2 separate regions of the Homo sapiens genome follow, and region 1 is linked to region 2. Evidence: promoter capture Hi-C in 16 types of primary human blood cells and fetal thymus (Javierre and others, 2016). All regions are on one chromosome and are shown on one strand. The core of a region is centred on a gene start or on the middle of the fragment in contact, and the rest is flanking DNA. Distances in the headings are between cores, read along the strand shown. Region 1 overlaps GCSAML (germinal center associated signaling and motility like). Region 2 holds the start of TRIM58 (tripartite motif containing 58).

The links. The method cuts DNA at HindIII sites, captures the fragments that hold promoters and counts their contacts. A CHiCAGO score of 5 or more calls a contact.
Region 1: a contact is called between a fragment that was not itself captured here and the fragment with the promoter of TRIM58 in region 2, in 1 of 17 cell types (megakaryocytes). The highest score is 5.9, in megakaryocytes.

What each region holds. Positions count from the first base shown.
Region 1 is chr1:247,560,839-247,565,874 of GRCh38, forward strand. It overlaps GCSAML (germinal center associated signaling and motility like), which reads left to right. Exons shown (of 5, transcript NM_145278.5): 3 at 2,752-2,801. It overlaps LOC102724446 (a long non-coding RNA gene), which reads right to left. Exons shown (of 3, transcript NR_188589.1): 3 at 4,801-5,036. Among named protein-coding and RNA genes, the nearest start is that of GCSAML, 14 kb to the left of the region's middle. The HindIII fragment of the contact is 4,843 bases long and covers 1,366-5,036 here.
Region 2 is chr1:247,853,118-247,858,436 of GRCh38, forward strand. It overlaps TRIM58 (tripartite motif containing 58), which reads left to right and starts at 4,070. Exons shown (of 6, transcript NM_015431.4): 1 at 4,070-4,549. The coding sequence starts at 4,130. RefSeq lists a cis regulatory region at 1,983-2,547. The HindIII fragment of the contact is 2,229 bases long and covers 2,955-5,183 here.

The DNA.
Region 1 (5,036 bases), core at 2,537-5,036, 290 kb before region 2:
GTGTTCCATGCCATTTGTTTTTTCCCCTGTGAAGTCGGTTTTCAGATTTAAGTATTTATTTTATGACTTTTCTCTCATTCTACTTTTGTTTCATTTGTTTAGATTTTTTTTATTTTTATTTTTTATTTTTTTGAGACCAAGTCTCACTGTTGTCACTGGGGCTGGAGTACAATGGCGTGATCTCGGCTCACTGCAACCTCCGCCTCCTGGGTTCCAGCAATTCTCCCACCTCAGCCTCCCAAGTAGCTGAGACTACAGGTGCACACCATCATGCCTGGCTAATATACAACTTTTTTGTACAGACAGGGTTTTGCCATGTTGCCCAGTCTGGTCTCAAACTTCTGGGCTCAAGTGATCCATCTGCCTTTGCCTCCCAAAGTGCTGTGATTACAGGCATGAGCCACCACACCTGGCCTACTTTTAAAACTGATAGAGCATACTTGTACATATTTGGGGGGTACATGTGATATTTTGATAAATGTATACAATGTGTAATGATTAAATCAGAGTACTTGTGATATCCATCTACTCAAACACCAATCTTTTATTTGTCTTGGGAACATTACAATTCTTTTCTTCCAGCTATTTTGAAATATACAATAAATTATTATTAACTATAATTTTCCTCACTGTGCTATCAAATACTAGGAGTTATTTGTTCTAGCTAACTATATTTTTGTACCCATTAGCTAACTTCTCTTGATTCTTTCCTCTCCCATTAATGTTGCTTTAATTTAATATAAAAATGTTATTCTCTATAATTGTTTTCCTGGTTTAGGCCAGTCCATTTTCCTTCTCCATTTATTATTGTTAATAACTATTAACAATAATAAACATGTTATTTTTCTGCTTCTAAAATATTGTTTCTGCTTCTTTTGTTTTGCTTTTGTTACGCATTTCATCTTTGTAACTTTGTGCTTAGTACTCTGAATGAAAGTAGATCATTTGTGAGATAAAATTGCGTGTATGCGTGTGTGTTTAAGGAGGGTGCAGACGAGAAACAAGCTATGGCTGTGACTGAACCAAACTGAGGGCGGCTCACCCGGCGCCGCAAAGCCAAAAACATCCACACGGAGGGTTGCAGCAGGACCAAGGAGGCGTCTATTTGCAGGTCACCAAGCAAGGAGAATGGATCCCTCAGGCTTAAGACCTGTCCTCTTCAATGGCTTACAATCAAGGGTTTTTAAAGGCAGGGGTAAATTTCAGGAAAGCAGAATTTACAGGCAAAATTGTAAATAAATACATGGAGATTATAGTTTGTTTGGCCTAAAAAGCTGAGATACCTTGAAGCTGAGGGGGAAGGGTGCCTTACGGGTCATAGGTGGAATGAAAGATTCTTTGATTTGCAATTGTTTAAGGAAGCAAAGCTTTGTCTGAGAATATGGAGCCATGAGTAAGGAACGCTAAGGTCTGGCTCCTGGGCATGACTTTCTCAGGCTCCTCAGGAAGAAATTTAGACAAAGTATGGCGCTGGGAGTTCAGTCCTCAGCGCGCCCGTGCCTGAGGTCCGTGTGCCAGAGGATGCATGTGGTGGAGGTCCAGGTTTCCTCCTGCTTCCCAGGCTCCTTATTTACTGCTCAGGGCTGGCTGGGTGCCTGGAATTTCCCTCGAAGAAACTCACGACTTTCCTTTATTTCCTTGCTTGGCAGTGCCAGACAGACTTCCAAGAGGGGTCTCTGCTCTGTTGCAAAATCCAGGCAGTGATTGTGGCATGTCGTTTTAGAATGCTTCCTCACAAAATGTTTTTCCCTCAGCCCAGGCACATCTCTCTACTGTGTACCTAGCTGTCCTTGAGGCAGGCAGCTGATTACAAGTTATATCCTTTTTTCATATTTCCCCTTAAATTTAGGAGTCTGACTGACAGAGAAATAAAAGGTGATATGCTGGCAACCCCATCTCCTCCCTACCGCCTTTGAATCCTCTTTATTGTGTAAATTGTGTCCCTTTAAAAATAATCTCTATTTCTTTCATCACTGGCCCACACTTATTTTTTTTTTAATTTATTTTTATTTTTATTTTTGAGATGGAGACTCGCTCTGTCACCAGGCTGGAGTGCAGTGAAATGATCTCTGCTCGCTGCAACCTCTGCCTCCCGGGTTCAAGCAATTCCCCTGCCTCAGCCTCCCGAGTAGTTGGGACTACAAGTGCATGCCACCGTACCCAGCTCATTTTTTTTTTTTTTTTGTATTTTAGTAGAGACGGGGTCTCACCGTGTTGGCCAGGAAGGTCTCGATCTCCTAACCTCGTGATCTGCCCGCCTTGGCCTCCCAAAGTGCTGGGATCACAGGCATAAGCCATCCCACCCGGCCACCACACTTATTAATGTCTATTACTGTAAGGTTTTAGTTAGAATTCGTAAGACCCTCTCATTTGTCTTTAAGGATTTATACACCCTCATCAAGAATAGCAGAAAAATAAATTTCAAAACTTTCCATTTTCTCTCTTGAATTGTCCTAAATTTCATTATATTATATGTATGTTTTCCATGCGTGTAATAATATATGTAGTCTGATAAGCTAATAATTCTCTTAGCTTCATGCTATATGGAGCTTTGTTTTCCACTTTTCATTGTCTAGATTTTTGTGGTTTTTCAAAAAAGGCTGGAGTAAGCAGCCTTTTAATTGTATTTAATATTTGCATGGAAAATCTAACAATGGCCTTAGGTTAAGGGCAACCAAATGCTTTTTTTGAAAGGCATTTTCAGCTTTGGAGAACCTGGAGTATCTCATGTTACTATCTCTTTCCTTGTAGGCAGGAAATGACTACATTTGAAAGAAAACTTCAAGATCAAGATAAGAAAAGTAAGTCATGGCTGTATAATATTTTTCATAGTAGGGAAGTGCAAATTTAAGCATCCAATTAGCAGACACTCTTGAGCCTATTGTAATAACAGATTGGAGAAGAGGCTGCTTGGAGTTCTTACTCTTTCATAAAACTGATCACATCATTCTTGGTATTAAAGTAATATTTGTATATTATTTTTTGAGTGACATTTAAGAAACTTCTGTGGAAAGAAGTTAACCAAAATTCTACTGTTTTTAATTTGTATATTGGTGTTCTAAAATAGGGCCTTTGAATATTAGCAGGCGATAAGAAGTGTATTTTTTTTTTTGAGATGGAGTCCCACCCTATCGCCCAGGCTGGAGTGCAGTGTCACAATCTCGGCTCACTGTAACCCCCCGCCTTCCGGGTTCAAGTGATTTTCCTGCCTCAGCCTCCTGAGTAGCAGGGATTACAGGGAGACACCACCACACCCAGCTAATCTTTGTATTTTTAGTAGAGACAGGGTTTCACCATGTTGGCCAGGCTGGTTTCAAACTCCTGACCTCGTGATCCACCTGCCTCAGCCTCCGAAAGTGCTGGGATTACAGGCGTGAGCCACCATGCCCGGCCCCTAAAAAGTGTATTATTTTGTTCTCAAGAAGTTGAAAGAAGCTGGTGGTGCACTCCTGTAGTCCCAGCTACTTGGGAGGCTGAAGTAGAAGGATTCCTTGAGGCCAGAAATTAAGAGTCCAGCCTGAGCAATGTAGCAAGAGCCTGTCTTAAAAAAAAAAAAAAAAAAGAATTTGCTCTGTTTGCCATAGTATCTAGGTATAGTAATCATGTAATTACTCAAAATCGACAGTTATGAATAACAGGGCTCAGCCCCTGTGGACAAGTATACCTAAAGGAAACTCTCTGTTTATTTTTACCCCTAACTTTATTGAGGTATAACTGACAAATAAAAATGGCCTATATTCAAGGTGTGCAATGTGATGATTTGATATATGTATACATTGTGTAATGATTACTACATCAAATTAATATATCCATCACTATACATAGCTACCATCTTGTATGAATGTGGGGACATAAGGGCACTTGAGATCTATTCCCTTAGCAAATTTCAAATGAAGAATACTACGTTGCTAACTAACAAGCAATGGGGATGGATTTCCTATTCAATCCGTGGTGCTGGGTTAACTGGCTAGCCATATGGAGAGGATAGAAACTGGACCCCTTCCTTACGCCATATACAAAAATTAACTCAAGATGGATTAAAGACCCAAACGTAAAACCCAAAATTATAAAAACCCTGTAAAACAACCTAGGCAATACCATTCAGAACATAGGAATGAGCAAATATTTCATGATCTAGACATCAAAAGCAATTGTAAGAAAAGCAGAAATGGACAAATGAGATCTAATTAAACTAAAGTATTTCTGCACAGCAAAAATAACTAACAAGAGTGAACAGACGGCTGGGCCCAGTGGCTCATGCCTGTAATCCCAGCACTTTGGGAGGCCGAGGTGGGCAGATCACGAGGTCAGGAGATTGAGACCATCCTGGCTAACACGGTGAAACCCCGTCTCTACTAAAAATGCAAAAATTAGCTGGGCATGGTGGCATGTGCCTGTAGTCCCAGCTACTTGGGAGGCTGAGGCAGGAGAATCGCTTGAACCCAGGAGGCGGAGGTTGCAGTGAGCCGAGATAGCACCATTGCACTCCAGTCTGGGCGACAGAGCGAGAATCTGTCTAAAAAAAAAAAAAAAATTGGTAGTCAATTTCAGATTCACACGTATGTAAATTGCTTCAGCATTCACAGATGGAATCAACATGAATCTGCATATTTGTGTGTAACTTGAAATAGTTACTCGTGTTATTTCTGTACCTATCTCTATAGCAAGTGTTCATTTTAAAGAATTGTATGATTTTCCTGTGATAGTTACATAAAATTTATATCTTAAATTTGCAGCTATAATCATTCTTTCTTTATGCTTATCATATTGCATTGACATAGCACATTTATGAACATTTTATTACCAAATTTTGAAATCCATCTTATTCAGTACATTAATGTGCTTTATTTACAGAAAGAACATACTATTGATGCTATCTCAGAACACATGTTCTTTCTTGATTTTTTCACTCAGTCTTGAGAACTTCAGTTATAAGATGGGGCAATGTCATGTCAGATGTTTAGATAATAGGCCTCTGCAGTTTTATGACTTCTACATTCTGTTTTTTTCACCTTTTCCTTCAATCTGTGATGGGG
Region 2 (5,319 bases), core at 2,820-5,319:
TCCAGTCCGCTTATTCAACATGATTGCTTCCTTACCCCTCCCTAGTTCCTCTTTTTCCACACAGTGTGCTATTTCTTCCCTGCCTCTATATAAGCCTCTAATTTTAGTCAGTCAGGGAGATGGATTTGAAACTGAGCTCCTATCTCCTCTGCTGCAGCACCTGATTAAAAGCTTCTTCTTTGGCAATAATCGTTGTCTCAGTGATTGGCTTTCTGTGTGGAGAGCAGCAGGACCTAGACCGAACTCCTGGTTTTTGGTAACAAATTGGGCTGATTTGGGGGCTATGGAGCTAGGAGATTGTGAATCCCCAAAGCTGAGGCAAAGGGTTTGGCCATGGAGAGCTGAGAAACTCTGTGAAAAGGGTTCAAAGTAGGGAAGAAAATATTGCTGTCCTGAAGAAATGGTTTCAGGAGCCCAAAGCCATGATACCAAAGAAATTACAAAAAAGAGCAGGGAGGAATAATGGTCAGATGACGGCAGATCCCATATTTTAAAGATGTCACAGAAGGCAGGACACAACTGAAGAGGAATATTAGAGAAGGAGGATGGTTGCAGGTGGTATTAGCTAAAAGATTTGCAACTCTGCAACCTGTAAATGAGTCACAGGGTGGAGTTAGCCTATAAATTAAGGAGTGGGGTGCATTAGAATTTGGTCGTATTGGCATAAACCAAGAGGTGCTTTATTTACGCCAAAAGAAAGCTCATGAGAAAATACAAATTTAAGTTAGAGTATTCCCATTAAACCAGAAACTGCCTGGCGAGGCACTCCACATAGCATTTGTAAATACAATGACATCTGGATATAATCCAGTCCACAACTTACCTGCATGGACGTGCTGTAAGGGAAATGTGTGTTTCTAAGAACAATGGTACCGATGTCATTCCTAGTCAACCAGTGTCAGAGACAAAACAGTTTAAGCTCAGCAACTCTAGGACCAGCAGGGGAAGAAGTGAGCTCGCCCACTCCGTCACACCCTACTGAAAACCACAGTGACCCCCAACGTCAGAAGCCAGGGGCCTTTCCTTAGGATCACAGGCACTAGGAAATCTGAATTTAAGTGAGCCTAGTTATCAACTGGCCCATATATTTGAGTAAATGGATTGTTTTACTGTGTCTCGTTATGCCTGCAAAATAGAAAAATGCTCCAGCATCTGCCAGAGTTATGGAGAGCCAGGGCAAGATCATATATGTAAAATGCAGAAAAACATGGATTTGACATTTGACATAATATAATCATCTTTGAACTTCCCTCTTTCATTAGCTCCTATGATAAACTGTCCTAATTCTGTTCATTTACTTATTAACTTGTTTAATCAGTTAGTATGTGTGGAGTGTCCATTTGTGCCAGTTACTCTTCAAGGTCCTGGGGATAGATAGAGCAGTGAACAAAATAGAAAAAAATCTCTCTTCCTAATGTAGCTTACCTTTTGACTCACCATCCTTCCATTCACTTCACTATTTCATTTCCTTTTCTTCAATTAAATATATTTGCTACATGGCCGGGCGAGGTGGCTCACACTTGTAATCCCAGCACTTTGGGAGGCCAAGGTGGGGAGATTGTTTGAACCCAGGAGTTTGAGACCAGCCTGGGCAACAGGGCGAAACTCTGTCTCTACAAAAAATACAAAAATTAGCTGGGCGTGGTGGCGGGCACCTGTAGTCGCAGGTACTTGGGAGGCTGAGGTGAGAAGATCACTTGAGCCTGAAAGGTAGAGGCTACAGTGAGTCAGGTTGTGGCACTACACTATAGCCTGGGCAGCAGAGCAAGACCCTGTCTCAATATATATACGTGTGTGTGTGTGTGTGTGTGTGTGTGTGTGTGTATTTCCAACATGCCAGGACCTATATTAAGTGTCTACTATCTATTAGCTCGTTTAATACTCTGAAAGGCCTTATATGAATGACACTAACACCTCTTCACTGCACGTCAGAAGAAATGCAGGGCAGAAACGCGGCACAGCTTGCCTCAAGCTTCTCAGCAAGTGCCACAGCCCTTAGTCCGGAGCCAGAGTCTGTTTTTCTTTGCTAAGCCTTCTGCTCTTTAGCTTTTTTCTCTAATGCCACATCTTTCGTGTTTTGCTAATACAGATCCATGTGTGTTCTCCAAGAATCTATTCGCTTTAATTGCGCACTTAACCTTTAGGCCTCAAGATCCTCTGCTCTGCCTGTCGCCAGAGATCCAGCCCAAGAGTTTGTCCTTATAATGAAGACCCACAAACCCCAGAGGATCCCCAAGGACCTGAGTCATCTGGCCCCGCCTCTTGCTGCAGCCTTATCTGCTGCCACCATATTCTGGCCCAGCTTGCCAGCCTGCCTGGCTTCTCACTGTCATCTGGGTATGTCTTGCTCCCACCTGCTGAAGTTTACCTTGTACCTTTCATGGCTTCTGGGGGCACGGCCTTGCGGAGCCCCCCTTCCCGCTGGCCAGCTTGTGTTCACCTATCAGAGGTTTGCTCAGAGACCTCAGGTGTCTGCCCCCGACCCTGCAGCCTCATTCAGAGTCCTCTGTTATATTCCTGCAGGACTGGTGAGCGACCTTCCTTGCAGTTATTGGTTTGTAATTATATGTTTGCATGATTTCATATCCACCTCTTCTAGTTGATCTTAAGGCTCCTGGAGAAATGGGGTCCCACCTCTTTTCCTTAACATGTGTATTTTCAGTACCCGGTGCAATGTCTGAGACTCCTGGCTACAAACAGACACAATGTGTGCTCAGGGACAGATTGATTTGCCACAGGTACACCCCACCATCACTTCAAACTCGACCATACTAAAGTTATTTTGCACAGATGCAGACACTGCCTCAGACTTGTCGACTTTCTGGACGACATTAGAGACTTTAATGTACTTTATCCTGATTCAGCCTTCCACTGGATGAAGTAACATACTCTGTCAAATCATTTTGCTCCTGTCTCAGCCTCCCCCATCTGACAGGTACACCACTGAGAGGCTAAGCTTGAATTATTCCTCTGATGAGTATCTCTATAGCTTTGTCATCTCCAAGACTGGCTTTGCAACAATCCTACAACATGTGTGTATTCCTTGTAGGATCCTCATTGAACTAGGCCAGATATTTATTTAAATATTTAGAATTATTTTTGGCTGGGCTGTAAACCTATAGTTACACACACCTATGCAGGCATCTTCCCGTGTCAGGCGGTGTCTCATTTCTTTATCAAGAGGTAATTAGTGCAAGAGAAAAAAATGAAGTTTGAAAAAAACATTTAAAAATTGATTATGCCATATAAAGGGGGAAAGCCTTTTAAGAAACGATTATGGCATGAGAGGACCATGGAGTAGCTCAGTAACAATGGAAGGGGCTCGGAGGGTGGAAGGCGGGCGAGGGATGAGAGATCACCTAATGAGAACAATTTACGCTATCACAGCGATGCCTGCGCTAAAGCCTAGACTTTATGCAGTGTCTCCATGTAACAAAACTGCACTGGTACCCCAGAAATCTGCACTAAATCTATATAATGATGATGGAGGCTGGGCGCGGTGGCTCGCGCCTGTAATCCCAGCACTCTGGGAGGTCGAGGCGGGCAGATCACCTGAGGTCACGAGTTCAAGACCAGGCTGACCAAAATGGTGAAACCCCGTCTCTACTAAAAATACAAAAATTAGCCGGGCATGGTGGCGGGCGCCTGTAATCCCTGCTGCTTGCGAGGCTGAGGCAGGAGAATCGCTTGAACCCGGGAGGCGGAGGCTGCAGTGAGCCGAGATCGCGCCACCGCACTCCAGCCTGGGCGACAGAGCGAGACTCCCTCTCAAAAAAACAAAAACAAAAACAAACAAACAAAGATGGAAGGAAGGAGGGAATTTAGCAATTCTCCAGATCTACTGCCAGTGAAAATAGCATATGAGGAGGGATTCCAGTTAGAAATGCCCAGTTTCCTGGGTGTGTGTGTGACGGGGGCGGGGAACCACAACGTTAATTTTATCCCCGACATAGGGAGCGCCTGAGTGGTGGCTTTTCACCGGGTGTGGCTCGTCTGAGCTCTTGAACTGAAGCCAGCGGACACCACCCGTCGGCGCCTGCTTTCCTGGGGCGTGGGCTCCTCCCCCTGTGCAGACCGCGAGGGGAGACGGTGCGGGCGGCCGGGAGCGCAGCCCTCCGGGAGGCGGGTCATGGCCTGGGCGCCGCCCGGGGAGCGGCTGCGCGAGGATGCGCGGTGCCCGGTGTGCCTGGATTTCCTGCAGGAGCCGGTCAGCGTGGACTGCGGCCACAGCTTCTGCCTCAGGTGCATCTCCGAGTTCTGCGAGAAGTCGGACGGCGCGCAGGGCGGCGTCTACGCCTGTCCGCAGTGCCGGGGCCCCTTCCGGCCCTCGGGCTTTCGCCCCAACCGGCAGCTGGCGGGCCTGGTGGAGAGCGTGCGGCGGCTGGGGTTGGGCGCGGGGCCCGGGGCGCGGCGATGCGCGCGGCACGGCGAGGACCTGAGCCGCTTCTGCGAGGAGGACGAGGCGGCGCTGTGCTGGGTGTGCGACGCCGGCCCCGAGCACAGGACGCACCGCACGGCGCCGCTGCAGGAGGCCGCCGGCAGCTACCAGGTGAGGCGCCCCCCGGCGGGGGCTGCGGGCGCTGCGGTGACCGGGAAGCGGGCGACAGTCCGGAGCGGAGCCGCCGAGGCCACCCGTCTCCTGAGCGGCTCCCACGGCCGCTCCCCCCACCGCGCGCCGTCCCCCCCGCCCACGCGGCTCACTCAGTGTGGGTCTCTTTGCCTTGGCTGTGGTAACCCCCTTTGCGACACACACCCATTATTTTACACCGTCCGCCCCTCCCCCAAGCACTCTCCTGTCGTCGAACTCGCGCTGGGCTGGTTTCTCCCGATGCGGATAGTCTGGTCCCTCAGCTGGGCTCTGGTCGGGAGGGCTGTGTGGTCCAGTTCATTCTTGGTAACAATTGTACGTCTATATCGTAAACTTGCCATAATAATTCTCATTTGTGCAATGCTTTGCTTTTGCACAGTGTTTACATTAAATGAGTGTTGTCAGCAAAGCAACCCTCGGGTTTGGGCGTTGTTAAGAAGAGTGTCGAGCTGGGTACGGGTTCCGACCCCTCCAAAGCTCAGGTGCACGTGCCTCCTGAAGTAGGAGCGGGTGGCTCTCCATCAGCAGGGATTTGGGGACTTAGGATTCGAACATCCTCAATGAAGAGGTGCTTCATTTGGGGTGTAGCCCGGGAAGCTTCAAAGAGAAAGAAGAAAAACAAAATGGGAGTATTTGGTCCCCAGAGTGGCATCTGTGAAATTGTGTGTCGATTTCTTCCTACTGGTGCCCTTCAAAAGTTCTTGGATGTTTTCTGAACACACTTGAATCCC